Linked DNA regions of Homo sapiens: region 2 is linked to region 1. The links are contacts of gene promoters, found by promoter capture Hi-C in blood cells and fetal thymus (Javierre and others, 2016). All regions are on one chromosome and are shown on one strand. The core of a region is centred on a gene start or on the middle of the fragment in contact, and the rest is flanking DNA. Distances in the headings are between cores, read along the strand shown. Region 1 holds the start of CYTH3 (cytohesin 3). Region 2 overlaps USP42 (ubiquitin specific peptidase 42).

What was found. The method cuts DNA at HindIII sites, captures the fragments that hold promoters and counts their contacts. A CHiCAGO score of 5 or more calls a contact.
Region 2: a fragment that was not itself captured here is called in contact with the fragment with the promoter of CYTH3 in region 1 in 2 of 17 cell types (M0 macrophages and M2 macrophages); the score reaches 6.7 in M0 macrophages.

The regions. Positions count from the first base shown.
Region 1 is chr7:6,271,216-6,274,538 of GRCh38, forward strand. It overlaps CYTH3 (cytohesin 3), which reads right to left and starts at 1,409. Exons shown (of 13, transcript NM_004227.4): 1 at 1,259-1,409. The coding sequence starts at 1,292. RefSeq lists enhancers at 24-746, 747-1,468 and silencers at 787-956, 1,277-1,636. The HindIII fragment of the contact is 13,610 bases long and covers 1-3,323 here.
Region 2 is chr7:6,138,885-6,142,184 of GRCh38, forward strand. USP42 (ubiquitin specific peptidase 42) reads left to right here. Exons shown (of 18, transcript NM_032172.3): 5 at 208-310; 6 at 1,244-1,311; 7 at 2,030-2,100. Among named protein-coding and RNA genes, the nearest start is that of USP42, 36 kb to the left of the region's middle. The HindIII fragment of the contact is 931 bases long and covers 1,315-2,245 here.

The DNA of each region.
Region 1 (3,323 bases), core at 159-2,658:
ACTCGCCAAATGCCATGACGGGTGCCAACTTCCCACCATCCTGGCTGCATCGCGTCTTTCAGCAAAAAAACATCTCCCTCTGAGCAGCACTTGAATTCTGGAAGGCACCTTGATGATGAACCACTTCATCCTGAAGCATTCAATACTGCTGATTCTTACAGGCAGCTGCACCGGCAGCCTGTAATTAAGATTTCTCTAAACTGCTCCCTTATTACATGGGGTTCTGATGATTCTGATGATTTCTCTGTCAGCTCAAAGGAGATCTTCAGGAAAAAAAAAAAAAGTCTAGAGAACCTCAACTTCGGCTGTTCCTGTAAAAACACGGGCATTAACCCTTTGCTTTCCAAAGCGAACACCCACTCCATACAGAGGCACGTTCCTCTGTTTTTAAAATCTAATTCCCAGCATGACCCAGCAGTCATTTGTATTCCACTAAATAATTTCCAACAAACACGATTCCTCCAGCAAGAGGAAACCGAACGTCAGACACAGACCACCTGGGCCACGACGCGCATCGACCCGACCCACTCGGGAGCACACCTGGCTCCGGGCACACCTGGCTCTCCGGTCTTGCCTCTGTGCTGGGTGCAGCTCGTGTCTCCCACCCTCGGCTCCACGGAGTTTTTTGCTCAATCTGTCGCGTCTGCCGTTTCCTAAAACGTCTACCCTGAACTGAACTCCAGCTGGCCCCCTCCCCGTTCGAGCAAATCCAGCGACCGTTTCTGACCCAAAGCCAAGCAGACTGTCACGCTTTCCAACCGTTTCCCCTGCCCTCCCGTCCTGTACACTCGAGGAGCCTCCAGTGCAAAACTTTCCCCTCCCGGTTTCCCACCGGCTCAGCCGCTTCCGCCCACCTGAGCTGAAAGGGGGCGTCCGAAACGCCGGGCTCCGGAGGGCATGAACGCCCTTGGCGACAAGATGCGGGGAAGGTCGCCCCGCAAGGTCCCCCGCCCCAGAGGAGCGACACCCAAACCCCGGCCCGAGACTCCGGGGCGACCCCAGCCCGCGGCAGCCCCGGCCTGGTACCCAGACCCTCGCCAGCGCCGAACGGCGACCCCGGCCCGCCCCCTCCCTCGGCCCCCGGAGACCCAGCCTCGGCCCTGGCCCGGCGTGCCTCAGGCCTCCAGCGGACGCCGCTGCCGCTGCCCCCGACCCCGTCTCCTCCGGCGAACCCCGGCCCAGCGCCGCGCCCTCGACCCCCAGCCCCCGGCCCCCGACCCCAGGCCGCCGGCGAGCCCACCACACCTCCGACACTCACCGCCACCACCCTCGCCGCCGCCGTCTTCATCCATCTTGAGGCCACTCCCGCAGCCGGCGAGCCGGGGGCCGGCAGCAGAGGGGCCGCGGGCTGGGGACGCCGCCGGAGGGAGCGCGCAGGCGACCGGGCGGCTCCTCAGCGCGCGGCCCGGGTCGCGGCCGGGCCTCCTCCCGCCGGGCGGGGCCTCGCTGGTCGGCGTGCCGTCACGTGACCCATGCCCCGCCTCTGCCCGCGGTGGGCGGGGCGTGAGGCCGCGCAGCCCCGCCCTCGGGAACCGGCCGGGCCGGCGGCGTCTGCGCTGGGGAAGGCTGTAGACCTGGCCCCTGAAGTGCAGGCCGATCCGGTGTGCGTGGAGCGAAGCCTCCTCGCCCTCAGCATTCCAGTAGCCTGCGGACGGGCGTGGGGCCCCGGACACTGGAACGCCACACTCTGCAAAACCCAGTGGCCAGGGGTGCAACTTGCACGTGCACTCGGGGTAAAAGATCAAGAAACGAATGCATTCAGAAGTCAGGCCTGGCCAGGCTCGGTGGCTCACACCTGTATTCCAATACTTTGAGAGGCTGAGGTGGGAGGATCGCTGGAGAACAAAAGTTGGAGACCAGCCCCGATAACATAGCGACCCAGGCATGGTGGCATGTGCCTGTAGTTCCAGCTACTGGGGAGGCTGAGGTGGGAGGTCACGTCACTTGAGCCCAGTAGGTAGAGGCTGCAGTGAGTTATTATTGCACCACTGCACTCCAGTCTGGGTGACAGAGTGAGACCCTGTCTCAAAAAAAAAAAGAACAAGGTCAGGCCTTCTCCTTCCTAAGACATGCATGTCAGAAGAATTCCAGCCTTTCAGCTGTCTTATATTTAATGGAGCCTCTCCTCCTTCCCTCCTGGTGAGTGCATTTTTAAATTAACAAAATGCAGGGCTTGTAAATGAATGTGGTCATGAGGTTGGAACGGAATCCCGATTCAACACACCTGGGGCTCAGCTCTCAAAGGGCATTGTAGGGGTTGGCCAATCTGGCGGCTGATGCCCTTGGAGTTTAGCGCCAGTCTTCCTTGGAGAGCTGCCAGCTGTCCTGGATTTATGATGCAGGAGGAGCTCTGAATTCAGTTTCCCTTGGGCACAGCCAGGGTCCTCAGCACAGGCCTCCTGGGCAGAAGGCCTCCCCTGGCCCCTGCTCCACATCGATGGATCTCCTCTCTCACTCCCCATATCTCTCTTCCAGTAACTCCTGAAGCATTGCTTGTGGCCCCTCCCAAGCCTTTCTGTTGGAACTCAATCGCATTAAAGAAAAGCAAACATTGTAATGGAGGAGATAGCTCATCTCTAATATAATTTTCCAGCAACTGTTTTATATTTACAAGCTGTCCATTGAACCAAAGGATCCTTCCGTTGTCATCTATCAAAGTGGACAATTTCACCTTTTGGTTCAAGGTTGCGGGATGATTTCAAAGTTCAATCTTCTAATAACCTCAAGAATTGAACACCAAGCATTCTCATGCAACCAAACCCACGAGGGACACTTTTTTTTTGAGACAGGGTCTCGCTCTATTGCCCAGTCTGGCATGCAGTGTCTCGAGTGATCCTCACACTTCAGCCTCCCAAATAGCTGGGACCATAGGTACATGCCACCATGCATCGGTTAATTTTTGTATTCTTTTTTAGAGACGAGATCTTGCCATGTTTGCCCATGCTTGTCTCAAACTTCTGGACTCAAGCGATCCTCCCACCTTGACCTCCCGAAGTGCTGGGATTACAGGCATGAGCCACCACACCCAGCCAAGGGACACTGCTGCGTGCAAAGGTGTTTGACAGCTTGAGTGACAAAGAGGCACCAGAAAAGGGGTCTGGGAGTCAGGAGATGTAGGGTTCAACTCCCAACCCCCAGACTCGGCTTCCTGATCTTGTTCCCGTCAGCTTTGTCATCTTGGAGATAAGAGCATCGTTACTGAGAAAAAATGACAGCATTACTTTGAACTTGATAATGAGATATGCAGAGCTTTGAACTCAAAGATACTATCAATTATAAATGCTTTTTCATGTCAATCTTAATTCTTTAGGTGTCTTAGAATG
Region 2 (3,300 bases), core at 530-3,029, 130 kb before region 1:
TGGTGCCCAAACGGTTGGGGATTCTAGTCTAAAGGGCCTGATCCTGCTTATAGCTTATATTAGTGGCTTATGTTAGTGCTATTTCCTCATAAAGTAAGTATTTGGGAGTTTTCCAACCAACATATTATTATAAGATATATTTTGGGGGGTACAACTTAGGCTTATTACGTGTAATGATAAAGCCTTGTCTTTACCGAAATTTTACAGGTATAGCTAGGCACTTCCGTTTTGGAAACCAAGAAGATGCCCATGAATTCCTTCAATACACTGTTGATGCTATGCAGAAAGCATGCTTGAATGGCAGCAATAAGTAAGTACAACAGAGCGCCAGCCATGTCTTCATTGGGGATCTCTGGTTGTAGTTTATTCTTATCAGAATTCATTTTCACCTTTTTTGTTGGAAGCACACAGAACAGTGTTCACTTTACCTTTTGGCTTTGCTCTGCCTCTTCCTTAGGTGATGTGCATTATTTTAAAATGGTTGAAATTTACACGTGTGTCTTACGTAACAGTTTGAGTTGGCTCAATCATAGATGTCAGGAAATAAACATTGGTCTTGCAGCTATTTAATTTCTCATTATCAGCAGACGTCTGCAGATCTCAAACTAGCTGCTTCTCCTTTCTAGTTGTGCCTGACATTTTCTTTTCTCTGCTGCCCTCCAGCCTGTGTTTATTTCCTGAACCCCCACCCCAATCAGTTACTGATTCTTGTAGCTAGTTCCTTAAAATCTAAATGCAGACTCAAGAGGAAGAACGAGGGGACAGATAATGCATCCCAAGCCGCTTGGTGCTGTCTGAGACACCTGGTAGATCTCCCTCTGCATTCTCCCTGCCCTGGCACCGCCCTGTCTAGGACTTCATTGTCCGGGTGATGACATACTTGGGTCGGAGGAAGACTCTCTGCCTTTTCCGCCTCCGCTCCCTTTCCTCCCACACAGGCCGCAGTGCCCGGAGGCTGCCATCTTCCTGCTTCAGGACCAGACTCCTGCCTTGCTTCCCGAGTCCCTTCCTGACAGACACAGCTCCCACAGCTCTGCGTCTCCTCCCGCCACTCCCAGACCTCCCTGTGTTCTGGCCAGGAAGGGATGCTCTTGGGCTGCCACACGTGCCATCCTTTTATTTTCCATGGCTGTCCTGTTTGAATTCTTGATCTTTTGTGAGCTCCCATGTGTTTGAAATCTGGTCACAGCATCTGGAGTTTTTGCAAAGCTCTTCTCTCATGTCACTGTTCAACGTTTTTCAGATTAGACAGACACACCCAGGCCACCACTCTTGTTTGTCAGATATTTGGAGGATACCTAAGATCTAGAGGTAAGCTTTTGCTTATAAGTTGATAAAATGATACACACATGTGGTTAAAAAATGGTAATAGTAGGACAGGGTTAGTCCTACTAGGAAGGAAGGAAAAGTGCTTCTCTCCAGCCCAGATTCTCATTCCTTTTACCCAGAGGCAGCCTCGGTGCCAGGTTGTAGTAAATCCTCCTGGTAGTTTCCTGTGCATGAATAAACTGGGAGCATACTGTGTGCACTGCTTCCATTTGTCTCTTCGTATTAGCAGTCTTTTACATTTCAGCACACAGGCCTAACAGCCTTCGACAGTTGGAGTAGTGTTCCATTTATTTTAGTCCCCTATCGATGGGATTTAGGTTGTTTGTGTTTTGTTGTTGTTCATGGAGCATCCGTGCACACATGCTTTATGTCTGGGTAAAAATGTATATGTAGGATGAATTCTTAGTATTAGAATTTCTGGATCACAGGGAGTGTGTATTGTAAATTTTAATTCTGTCAGGTTGTCTTCTAAGAGGGTATACCAGTTTTGATTCTAATCAATAGTATATGAGGGGCCAAATTCATTACACTTTTCACCCATATTATGAGTAGTATTAATTTAAAACTTTTTTTGTTCAATTGATAGAAAAATTACAGTTAAAAAATTTTAAATTTCAAAATTGTATTTTGTCATTTCAGTAGTTGATGTTGCTGTAATGATTATACTTTGCTCATCTTTTGCATTTTATTTTTATTTCAGTCAAATGTTTAAATTGCAAGGGCGTTTCAGATACTTTTGATCCATATCTTGATATAACATTGGAGATAAAGGTAAATTTCATAATTATGGGAGTAATTACATTTTTAAAATAAGTCATTTTATGTAACTGTAGTTCATTTATAATTTAGACTACTTGTTAGAGAATATAAATTGAAAAATTCAATATGCTAAGATTTCATTTGGAGGAATTATTCAAGCTTTGTAGTAAGCATCATAAAAAAGCTTTTAAAGTTTTTTTATTACTCTTTGAATTTTCTTTTTCTTTTCTTTTTTTTTTTTTTTTTTTGAGATGGAATTGCACTCTGTCACCCAGGCTGGCATGCAGTGGCGTGATCTCGGCTCACTGCAACCTCCACCTCCCGAGTTCAAGCAATTCTTCTGCCTCAGCCTCCCGAGTAGGTGGGACTATAGGTGCATGTGCCACCATGCCCAGCTAATTTTTGTATTTTTAGTAGAGATGGGGTTTCACCTATCGGCCAGGATGGTCTTGAACTCTTGACCTCGTGATCTGCCCACCTCCCAAAGTGCTGGGATTACAGGCGTGAGCCACCGCGCCCGGCCTGAATTTTCATTTAATATCTTAATAAAACTAGATTTTCTATATTAGCCAAGTACAGTTGGTTATTATTATTTTTTTTTTTTGAGATGGAGTCTTGCTCCATTGCCCAGGCTGGAGTGCAGTGGCGCAATATCAGCTCACTGCATCCTCCACCTCCAGGGTTCAAGCATTTCCCCTGTCTCAGCCTCCCTAGTAGCTGGGACTACAGCGACTGTGCCCAGCCTGCCTCTTGCATTTTCTGAATTCCTAATTTTTTTGTTGTTTTTGAGCTTGCATTTTTCTGATTACAGATGTAATACATGCTTATGATAAAAATGAGTAACGTTGCAGATATATGTAAAATCCTTTCCTTTTGAATGCATTATTTTTAACAGTTTGATATGTACTGCTCCAGAATGTATTGTTCACTTTTTATATAAATGAGATTGTGTCTGATGTCTGTCTGGCCACTCACTGTTCCGTGTAATTCTGTTGAGACCTTTCTGTGTGAGCGTGCTCTCTGGGCAGTGTGTGGTGCAGTGAATGGATAGACTGTAATTCCTGTGCCGAATTCCTTGCTGGTGGATATTTGGTTTGCTTCCAGTTTTATGTATTGCTGCAGTGAGCATCCTCTATATTTTTGTTCACTTTAATTCTGCTCATTTTTAAATGGGAGAGGATATAATTTGGTATGTAGATTTATAAAAGTGAA